Linked DNA regions of Homo sapiens: region 1 is linked to region 2. Evidence: promoter capture Hi-C in human tissues and cell types (Jung and others, 2019). All regions are on one chromosome and are shown on one strand. The core of a region is centred on a gene start or on the middle of the fragment in contact, and the rest is flanking DNA. Distances in the headings are between cores, read along the strand shown. Region 1 overlaps DPY19L3 (dpy-19 like C-mannosyltransferase 3). Region 2 holds the start of CEP89 (centrosomal protein 89).

Evidence for each region. The method cuts DNA at HindIII sites, captures the fragments that hold promoters and counts their contacts. A contact is called where the count stands out against the background at its distance.
Region 1: a contact is called between a fragment that was not itself captured here and the fragment with the promoter of CEP89 in region 2, in 1 of the 25 tissues and cell types used here (dorsolateral prefrontal cortex).

Annotation. Positions count from the first base shown.
Region 1 is chr19:32,407,911-32,413,580 of GRCh38, forward strand. DPY19L3 (dpy-19 like C-mannosyltransferase 3) reads left to right here. Exons shown (of 19, transcript NM_001172774.2): 2 at 307-446; 3 at 3,329-3,462. The coding sequence starts at 344. Among named protein-coding and RNA genes, the nearest start is that of DPY19L3, 5.0 kb to the left of the region's middle. The HindIII fragment of the contact is 3,296 bases long and covers 2,098-5,393 here.
Region 2 is chr19:32,970,373-32,976,055 of GRCh38, forward strand. CEP89 (centrosomal protein 89) reads right to left here and starts at 1,586. Exons shown (of 19, transcript NM_032816.5): 1 at 1,464-1,586. The coding sequence starts at 1,502. It overlaps FAAP24 (FA core complex associated protein 24), which reads left to right and starts at 1,870. Exons shown (of 5, transcript NM_152266.5): 1 at 1,870-1,974; 2 at 2,812-2,930; 3 at 3,054-3,190; 4 at 3,688-3,840. The coding sequence starts at 2,825. RefSeq lists enhancers at 1,394-1,613, 1,994-2,043 and a silencer at 1,724-1,853. The HindIII fragment of the contact is 5,065 bases long and covers 1-4,989 here.

The DNA.
Region 1 (5,670 bases), core at 2,496-4,995, 560 kb before region 2:
TAGGGAGACCCCATCTTTACAAAAAATAATTAGCCAGGTGTAGTAGCACATGCCTGTAGTCCAGATACTCGGGAGGCTGAGGTGGATCACCTGAGCCTGTGGAAGTAGAGGCTACAGTGAGCCGTGATGGTGCCGCTGCACTCCAGCCTGAGTGACAGTGAGACCCTGTCTTGGGGGGAAGAAAAAAAAAGGGAGGGCATGCTAATAGAGGGAAAATGGCATAAGTAAAGGCATTTCAGCATGGATGAGCACGGGGTGTGTTGGGGAGAAGGCACTGACGTTGATGGCCTGTTTATTGCTATCTAGGAGTGATTTGGAGAACAATGCATGTAAGTCTGACATCATGATGTCCATCCGGCAAAGAAGAGAAATAAGAGCCACAGAAGTTTCTGAAGACTTTCCAGCCCAAGAAGAAAATGTGAAGTTGGAAAATAAATTGCCATCTGGTAGGTGATTTAAACTAAAGCAGCAATTTGGGTTGCTTTTATTTCTGCATATTAAAATGTCACTCTCCAATAGGATAAAAATTTGGTGGGACCTAACAATTGAAACTTGTTGTAGTACCCTGATATTCTAATTGCAATTTGATTAGATTGATTTTACAGTTATGATTTGACAAAAGATGAAAGAGCTTTGATTAGAAGTGTTTGTCAGCTGTCTGTTCATTAACTTACGGTTCTTCCAATCTCATCCTTTGACTCTCTAGAGTAATGGTCCCCCCACCCACACCCCAGATTTTAGTCTCTCTCTAATTTTTCTGGTCGTGTATACTATTTACACCAGGCAACCTTACCTTGGGTGAGTTTCCATTAAGGTAGTGAAAGGTGGATCAACATTTTTTAAAAATTCTTTATAATTAGTCAAATTCCTGAAGTTTTCTTTTGCTTTTTTTTTTTTTTCTTTTATTGGTGGGAAAAGTAATCAGAACTTGGTCAGTTGTTTGTATAATGGTAAAGACTTGCTAAGTGATGCATCAGATAGCATTAATTACCAACTTCTTGCTTCCTGAGTAGCTTTTGTAACTAAAGCATGGTCAGGATTTTAAAAGTTAACATGAAAATCTTCATACCCATTAACCATTTTGGATATCTGACAGAATTTACATTATTTACAGCCATGTTAATTCTTACCAGCCAGGCTAGTAAAGCAATTCAGGGAAACAGTTTAACAAAAGTAATCTGTAATGGGAGGTCATGACACCTGGCTCAGCCATTAGCGAGTGATTAACACGTTTTGGATAATAGTACTTTCTGAACACCTTAAACAATGCAAAGAAAAAGAAATATACTCCCATCCTGAAACTAACACCAGTGGCACTGTCTTGCTGTCTTAATGTCATATTCTGCACATGTATACCCATAAGCATTCGTATACAGTTTTGCAAAATTGGGATCCACGTGCTGTTTTGTAGCTTGCTATTTTTCTCTTATTATGTTATGAACATGTCATAAGCCAGTTAACGTATTTTTGAAATATCATCTATGTAAAGTATTTTTATAGCTGCCACTGTAGAAGTGAAAGGTTTTCTTACCATTTGCTAATACAGACAGAACTGTGATCAATTTCCTTGTGGCCATATGTTTGTTTAAAACTTTATTTCCTTGGGGCATGTCTTAGTCCATTTCTGTTGCTATAAAGGAATACTTGAGGCTAGGTGATTTATAAAGAAAAGAGGTTTCTTTGCCTCAGGGTTCTGCAGACTGTATGAGAAGCATGGCACCAGCATCTGCCTCTAGTGAGACCTCAGGAAGCTTCCAGTCGTGGCAGAAGACTTAGGGGAGCCAGTGTGTAGAGATCACATGACCAGAGTAGAAGCAATTTCCAGGGAACACAGGATGTCAGGCTCTTTTTTAACCAACCAGCTCCCCTAGGACTAACAGAATGAAAACTCAGTACTGCTAGAATCTCACCAACCTGTTTATAAGGGCTCTGGTTCCATCACCACACCACCTCCCATTAGGCCCCACCTCCAACATTGGGAATCACATTTCATCATGAGATTTGGAGGGGCCGAATAGTCAAACCACAGCAGGGTACATGCCTAGATTGGGAATTACTGGCCAAATGGGATGCTCATTTTGGTGGCTTTTACTCACTGCTGCCATGTTGCATTCCAGAGAGGCACCAATTTATTCTTCTAGCAGCAATGTTTGAAGATGTCTATTTTTTATACCCTTACCAAAACAGTATTAGCATTTTGAAAGCTGTCAAATTGGCCAAGATTTAAGTATAACTCACAGTTTTGATTTGCATTTCTTTAACATTAATGAATTTAAACATCTTCAGTCTGTTATTATTATTGGCCACTTTTTTCTATTGTACATTGCCTGTTCATGTCCTTAATCTTTTTCCTACTGCAGTATTCATCTTGACAGGACAATAAATTGTCCTGAAATAAAATAAATTGTCCTGAAAGTATTCATCTTATGTTAAGGGTATTTAAGCTTTCTTATATGTGCTATCCATATTTTGCCTAGTTTATATGTCCTTTAACTTGAGTTATGTTGGATTATTTATTCTGTGGGTTTTTCCCCCCAGAGCATTCCTGCAAAACCTGTGGGTTTAAAAAAAAAGTTTTAGGTAATCGGCCAGGTGCAGTGGCTCATGCCCGTAATCCCAGCACTTTAGGATCCCAGCTTGGGTGGGTGAATCACTTGAGGTCAGGAGTTCAAGACCAGCCTGGCCAACATGGTGAAACCCTGTATCTACTAAAAATACAAAAATTAGCCAGGCATGGTGGCATGTGCCTGTAGTCCCAGCTACTCAGGAGGCTGAGGTGGGAGAATTGCTTGAACCTAGGAGGCAGAGGTTGCAGTGAACCGAGATTGCACTACTGCATTCCATCTTGGGCAACAGAACAAGATCCTGTCTCAAAAAACAATAATTATTTTTTAGGTAATCAAGTTTTTAAAATAGCTTTTAAAGAATAAGCCACCAATTGTACCTAGATTATCTAAAAGATCGATTACGTCCTAGACACGTAACACATTTAGTCATCCATTTAACAGACTTCATAGTTAAATTACGGTTGTTAAACTGTGCCGGACAGAGGCCCTCAGTATTAAACATGAATAAGATAATGTATTTGTCTTCAAGAAGCTCACGTTGTAGTTGGCAGAATGGACACATGGACAGTTAGATACGGGGTAACAGTTGTAATAGAATGAAAACAGGTCTGTGGAATCAGAAAGGACCCTCCGCTGGAGACAGGAAAAGCTTTCCCAGTGACAGGCAGCTAGACTTAGCTTACTTGATAATCTGAAGTAGAACTATTACATTCTGATTTTTTTACTGACTTAGTTATTTATCTGTTCCATTTTTCCAAAAGGTTGTACCAGTAGAAGATTATGGAAGATTTTGTCATTGACAATTGGTGGAACCATTGCCCTTTGCATTGGACTTCTTACATCTGTCTACCTTGCCACGTTACATGAAAATGATTTATGGTTTTCTAATATTAAGGTATGGAGTTTCTTTGACCATTGTATCATTCACTCAGTGGGATCTCCAGTAGTAAGCCATGTGGATGAATGACCAAGGCAACACAGTTTTGCCATAAAGAATCCAATCTCTAGAAAGGTTGGACTATAGAGTGAAATAACTTTTGTGTTTATTATTTTAAAATAACATATTAGAATCTTTTTTTAAATTTTTCTTTATTATTTATTTATTTTTGAGATGGAGTCTCACTCTGTCACCCAGGCTGGAGTGCGGTGGCGCAATCTTGGCTCACTACAACCTCTGCCTCGCAGGTTCAGGTGATTCTTCTGGCTTAGCCTCCCAAGTAGCTGGGACTATAGGTGCGTGCCACCACACCCAGCTAATTTTTGTATTTTTACTAGAGACGGGGTTTCAGCATATTGACCAGGCTGATCTCGAACTCCTGACCTTGTGATCTGCCTGTCTCAGCCTCCCAAAGTGCTGGGATTACAGGCGTGAGCCACTGCGTCCAGCCAGAATCTTTATTTTTCATTTTAATTTTTTGAGATAGGGTATTGCTCTGTCACCCAGGCTAGAATGCAGTGGTGCAAACATGGGTCACTGCAGCCTCAACCTCCTGGGCTCAAGTGAGTATCCTGCCTAAGCTTCCTGTGTCACTGGGACCCCAGGCATGCACCACCTCACCAAGCTAAATTTGATTTTTTTGTAGAGACAGGGTCTCACTTTGTTGCCCATGCTGGTCTCGAACTCCTGGGCTCAAGCGATCCTACTGCCCTGGTCTTCCAAAATATGAGAATGAGCCATAGCACCCAGCCCAGAATTTTTATAATCAAGTGAGTTTTTTCTTTTTCATTAACTTATTCCATTTATTTAGCAGTTATTCTAAATTAGTATTTTTCAAGTTATAGATTGTGAAATTAGTGCAGTAGGTCATGAGTAACATTTTTCTTAATGAAATCAAAAAGAAAGAATACTATCACATCTAGTAGGGTTGAGGATTGTTTTGTGAAACTTTTAATTTTATATATATATATATATGCACAAACTGGGTCACAGTATACAAGGTACTTCCTTTTCTTTTTTTTCTTGTTGGCTACAACAGGAAAAAAAAAAAACAGAAAAGGAAATAAAAAAGCCACTGCTTTAAATCATGGGGTCTAAATGTGGCTCCACAGAGGGTCCTCAGCATGTTCATGACTATCTAATACTCTGTGCAAGTGGTTTTGCAGGGCATAGGGCGATGGGGAAGCCATATGTTTCCAGGGAAAGGAACTGTAATTTTAATCAGATTTTCAGGAGGGTTAGCCGGGCGTCACGCCTGTAATCCCAGCACTTTGGGAGGTCGAGGCGGGCAGATCACTTGAAGTCAGGAGTTCAAGACCAGCCTGGCCAACATGGTGGAACCCTATCTCTACTAAAAATACAAAAATTAGCCGGGCATGGTGACACACACCTGTAATCTCAGCTACTCAGGAGGCTGAGGCACAAGAATCACTTGAACTCGGGAGGAAGAGGTTGCAGTGAGCTGAGATCCCACCACTGCACTCCAGCCTGGGCAACAGAGCAATACTCTTTATCAAAAAAAAAAAGAAAAAAGTTGAGGGGGTGGTCTGTGACTCTTTAAACACGTTTCCTTGTTTTCTTTCTCTCTCTCTTTTTCAACATTTCTAGAACTCCTCTTGGCATTGTTTTCAGAACTCGTATATAACTTACATGTGGAAATTTGCATCCAAATATACCTTACATTTTAATCTAATATGTCATGATCTTTAACCTAAACTGTGGTGTCTAATGACTAGTTGCTTGTAAAAATAAACAAACACCTTCAAAGCCAAAGATGTGTATCTATAAGAATGTTCGAAAGAAGTGACTGATGAAGGATCTGAAGACATTTTCCAAAGAAAGTTTTCCAAAACATTTTGAGCTTTGATTCTCTTACTGAAATGAGCCTCGAAAGGATATTACTTTGATGACAAATCTAATTTATAAGAATGACCTCTAGTGTGTTTATTTTTAAAACTTGCTGTGTTACTTTATGGGTACAGTATATATATCTTTATACAAATTATCATAGTACCAAAGAAGAATAATTCTTTTTTTTTTTAATTATTATTATACTTTAAGTTTTAGGGTACATGTGCACAATGTGCAGGTTAGTTACATATGTATACATGTGCCATGCTGGTGCGCTGCACCCACTAACTCGTCATCTAGCATTAGGTATATCTC
Region 2 (5,683 bases), core at 336-2,835:
AAGCCAGATGCAGTGGCTCACACCTGTAATCCCAACACTCTGGAGGCCAAGGTGAGAGGATTGCTTGAGCCAAGGTTTAAGACCAGCCTGGGCAGCATACCCAGACCCCATCTCTACCAAAAAAAAAAAATTATGTTTTTTTGAGGCAGAGTCTAGCTTTGTCGCCCAGGCTGGAGTGCAGTGGCACAATCTTGGCTCACTGCAACCTCTGCCTCTCGGGTTTAAGCGATTATCCCACCTCAACCTCCCGTGTAGCTGGGATTACAGGTGCCCACCACCACGCCCGCTAATTTTTGTATTTTTAGTAGAGATGGGTTTTCACCATGTTGGCCAGGCTAATCTTGAACTCCTGACCTCAAATGATCCGCCTGCCTCAGCCTCCCAAAGTGCTGGATTACAGGTGAGAGCCACCTCACGTGGCCTCTACAAAATAATTTTTAAAATTAGCCAGGCATTGAGACTTGGCAGAGTGTGAGGCAAAAAATAAAATAAATAAAAAATACCTAGGTGTGGTGGTGCACACCTGTAGTCCCAGCTACTCAGGAGCCTGAGGCAGGAGGATCACTTGAACCCAAGAGGTTGAAGCCACAGTGAGCTATGATCATGCCACTGTACTCCAGCCTGGGCATCAGGACAAGACCCTGTCTCTAAAACTAAATTAAATAATAAATAAATATAAGAATCCCCTTGGCTGCTACGTGGAGAATGGACCTAGGGGAAGGGCGAGAGTGGAAGCAGAGAAACCAGTGAGGATCTGCCGCAGCAGTCCAGACAGATGCTGGAGGCCGGGGTGTGGGTGGAGATGGGAACAGCTGGCAGATGTATGTAGTGGGTATATCGGATGGGACTTGCTGATGGGGTGTACATGGTGGGTGGAGGAGGGAAAAATGAAGAATGGCTATATCCAGCAGTGCAGCAGGTGTACGTCGTCCAGGAGTTAACTCCGGGCACGGGGACGAATGCTACAGGGGAGGCAGGGTGCTCCTGTCCAACTGTGGCCGACCCTGGGGCAGAAGATTGTTAACGCCGGGCACAGTGGCTCACGCCTGTGATACCAACACTTTAGGAGGCTAAGGAGCTCAAGACCACCATAGGAACATAGCAAGATCCCTGTTTCCACAAAAATATTGAACAATTAGCCGGGAGTAGTGGCGCGCGCCTGTAGTCTCAGCTCCTCGGGAGGCTGGGGTGGGAAGATCGCTTGAGCCCAGGAGTTCGAGGATGCAGTGAGCTATGATCGCACCACTGCACTCTAGCCTGGGCGACAGAGCGAGACCCTGTTTCTTAAAAAAAAAAAAAAAAGTTTAGAACACGAAAAATCAAGGCTTCCTCAACTGAAAACCACTTTCTCTTGTGCCGCCCCCTTGACTGGATCTCAGGCCAAACCCCAACCCGCCCCAACACTTTACCCCTAATTCCCGGCCCCACAGAGCCCCACGCGCGGCGGGCGAGCATCTACTTACGAAATGACTCCTGCGGCCTCTCCGAAATCCCAGGAGCATCCTTGCAGCGCGAGGAGAATGGACCGGGGCCTGGACTCATCAGCAGATCTATCCACAGCCAGGGACCACTCCCTAAAGCCCGCCGCAGGCCCAGCCCTCACGCTTTCTCTTCGCAATGGACTTTGCAGCAACCACGTCGGCCATTGGCTCAGCTCGGCCCTCGACCAATCAGAGCTAAGGTTACTTCCACACCGGTCGTTCTTGGCAACCAGTGGGTACCGTTCAAATCCCCGCCAGGGCGGAAACGTCCGCCCTTATCCGTTCTCTTATTGGTCAGGTTAGACGTCCATTTCTGACGCCACAGCCTATCCGGCGCTGCGGGAGGCGGAGGGCGGGCTGGATGAAGGACTGGGCGAGCACCGAGGGCGTGAACCCGGAAGGTGGCGCGGCCACCAGTAACATGATCTCTAGACTGGGACGGTGGGGTTCCTGCCGGCTGTATTCGGGCCTTGGACTGGACTGAGAAGCTACGGTGCGGATCCAGCTGGGGTATCAGGGGCTAGGCACGTGATGAAAATGAAGGACGCGGACACCAGGACAGGAATCTCCTGGTTCTTAGAGAATTTATTTCGCCACAAATAATTGGCAAACGGGATCTCGCTGTATTGCTCAGGCTGGTCTCGAACTCCTGGGCACAAGCGATCCTCACGCCTCAGCCTTGCCCAATGTTGGGATTACAGACGTGAGCTACCATGCCCAGCCCAGGATTCTTTTAAAACTTAAATCTGATCGTGCCTCTGGCCTTATTGGAATCCAATGCCATTACCACCTCCACCACCACACATCCCGTCTCCAGCCACCCTGGCCTTCATTCAGGCCTTTGTGTTTTCTTTTTCTTTTCTTTTTTTTTTTTTTTTTTGAGACGAGTCTTGCTCTGTCGCCCAGGCTGGAGTGCAGTGGCGCGATCTCGGCTCACTGCAACCTCCGCCTTCCGGATTCAAGCAATTCTCTGCCTCAGCCTCCCAAGTGGCTGGGATTACAGGTGCCCACCACCAAGCCCGGCTAATTTTTTTGTATTTTTAGTAGAGACGCGGTTTCACTATCTTGGCCAGGCTGGTCTTGAACTCCTGACCTTGTGATCCACCCGCCTCGCTCGGCCTCCCAAAGTGCTGGGATTACAGGTGTGAGCCACCGCGCCCAGCCTGTGTTTTCTTATTAGTAATTATAAAGGGAATCTTATTTGACAGTTCTTTGACAAATAATTCAGTTTGCAGAGGGGATCCTGCCCCAGAGGCCCTGGCTTGGAGTGGAATGCAGGGCCGTGTGCAGGAGAGCCTGCTCAAGTGCCGCCTGGCTTTTCCCTCCTTAGGTGGAGACCATCCATGGAAAAGAACCCCCCTGATGATACGGGCCCCGTGCACGTGCCTTTGGGGCATATTGTGGCCAATGAGAAATGGCGCGGGTCACAGCTGGCGCAGGAGATGCAAGGTCGGTGGCCTGCCCTCTGCCAGCCCTTTCCTCCCCTGACATATTAAAAAAAAAAAATCTGCCTATTATTGCCATCTTTTCATCCAAAGCTTATGGAACTCATTTTCTTCTCTGTATTTTAAGGGAAAATTAAGCTCATTTTCGAGGATGGCTTGACACCAGACTTTTATCTGTCGAACAGATGCTGCATTCTTTATGTCACCGAAGCTGATTTGGTGGCAGGAAATGGCTACAGAAAGAGGCTTGTTCGGGTTAGAAATGTAAGTATTAGGCTGGGTGCTGTGGCTCACGCCAGTAATCCCAGCACTTTGGGAGGCCAAGGCGGGTGGATCACCTGAGGTCAGTAGTTGGAGACCAGCCTGGCCAACATGGTGAAACCCTGTCTCTGCTAAAAATACAAAAATTAGCTGAGTATGGTGGCGCACGCCTGTAATCCCAGCTACTAGGGAGGCTGAGACGGGAGAATTGCTTGAGCCTGGGAGGCAGAGGCTGTAGTGAGCCGAGATCACGCCACTGCACTCCAGCCTGGGCGACAGAGTGAGATTCCAACTCAAAAAACAAAAAACAAAAACAAAAAAGAAATGTAAGCATTGGATTAAAGAAACTCGAACATTGATTTGTCTCACCCCACCCTTCCCTCCATCCCTTGGTATCATTTATTTAAAATCATTGGCCAGGTCAGGCACGAAGTGATAGCATTCTTAACCTGAAAAGCAATTTGGTTGCAAAATGACTTACTGTCTTTTTTCCTTTCAAGTCCAATAATCTTAAAGGAATTGTAGTCGTTGAAAAAACCCGGATGAGTGAACAATACTTCCCAGCCCTACAGAAGTTTACTGTGCTGGACCTTGGAATGGTGCTGCTTCCAGTGGCCAGCCAGATGGAAGCATCCTGCCTCGTCATCCAGTTGGTGAGTACCGATTCCTACACCTTCGTGGTAGTCCTGTCCTCATGGACACTCAGCTGCTCTCCAGAAGCAACCATCAATCCAATCTATGTCATTCTCTGACTTGGTTTATAAAATCTCTTCGAGGAATTTAAATGCGGAAGCTGCCTCTGCAGCCAGCTCAGCTTGTCACACACTCCAGGCAAGTGTATCACAAAGTATACAAGTTGGAGACCTGATTTTAGATTCTCAGGGTGTGATGGCTCCATCAGTCATTATCCTGCCCTTTCGCTGGTGAAAACGTCAACCTAGAGGCCAGGCGTGATGGCTCATGCTTGTAATCCCAGCACTTTGGGAGGCGGAGGCGGGAGGATCACTTGAGGCCAGCAGTTCGAGACCAGCCTGGCCAACATGGCAAAACCCTGTCTCTACTAAAAATACAAAAATTAGCTGGGCGTGGTGGTGGGTGCATGTAATCCCAGCTACTCCGGAGGCTGAGGCAGGAGAATCACCTGAACTGAGGAGGTGGAGGTTGCAGTGAGTGGAGATGCTCCATTGCACTCCAGCCTGAGCAACAGGAGCGAAACTTTGTCTCAAAAAAAGAAAGAAAGAAAGAAAATGTTAACTAGAAGCTGCTTTGTCTCATCCCGTATTTTTGTTAAGCATCAGCACCTTGTGCAAGTTTTTTTTTTTTCCCTTTTTTTTGAGGCGGAGTCTCGCTCTGTCCTACAGGCCAGAGTGCAGTGGTACAATCTTGGCTCACTGCCATCTCCACCTCCCGGGTTCAAGCCATTCTTCTGCCTCAGCCTCCCGAGTAGCTGGGACTACAGGCACGCACCACCACACCCGGCTAATTTTTGTATTTTTAGTAGACAGGGTTTCACCATATTGGCCAGGCTGGTCTCAAACTCCTGACCTCATGATCCGCCCACCTTGGCCTCCCAAAGTGCTGGGATTACAGGTGTGAGCCACCATGCCTGGGCAGTTTTTTTTTTTTTTTAGATAGGGTCTTGCTCTGTCATTCCAGCTGGAGTGCAGTGGTGCAATCTTGGCTTACTGCAACCTTTGCCTCCTGGGTTCAAGCGATTCTCCTGCCTCAGCCTCCCTAGTACCTGGGATTACAGGCACCCACCACCATGCCCGGCTAATTTTTGTATTTTTAGTAGAGATAAGAGTTTCACCATGTTGGCCAGGCTAGTCTCAAACTCCTGACCTCAGGTGATCTGCCTGCCTCAGCCTCCCAAAGTTCTGGGCCACCGCACCAACCAACACTTTTTTTTTTTTTTTTGAGATGGAGTTTCGCTCTTGTTGCTCAGGTTGGAGTGCAATGATGCAGTCTCGGCTCACTGCAACCTCCTCCTCCTGAGTTCAAGTGATTCTCCTGCCTCAGCCTCCCGAGTAGCTGGAATTACAGGTGCCCGCCACCACGCCCAGCTAATTTGTATTCTTAGTAAAGACGGGGTTTCTCCATGTTGGTCAGGCTGGTCTCGAACTCCCGACCTCAGGTGTTGTGCCCGCCTCAGCCTCCCAAAGTGCTGGGATTACAGTCGTGAGCCATCGCGCCCGGCCGCCAACACTTATTTTTAAAATCAGTTTAGTAGCTTACGCCTCTGATCCCAGCATGGGGAACATCAATTGTGTGTGTGTGTTGTTTGTTTTTTTCACTTTTGTTTTCTTTGTTATGTGTGTGTTGTTTTTAAATCACCCCCTCTGATGTGGAGCTAGAGTTGAGAGCCACATTGAAGATGCAAGCAGCCATGAATGGTTCACAGATCCCTCTCTACTATATCCCTTGCGTCACCGTTCCTAACTTTCCTTGATATAACACTGTTGTCTGCCTTAGTATAACCACCACTAACTAGACCAG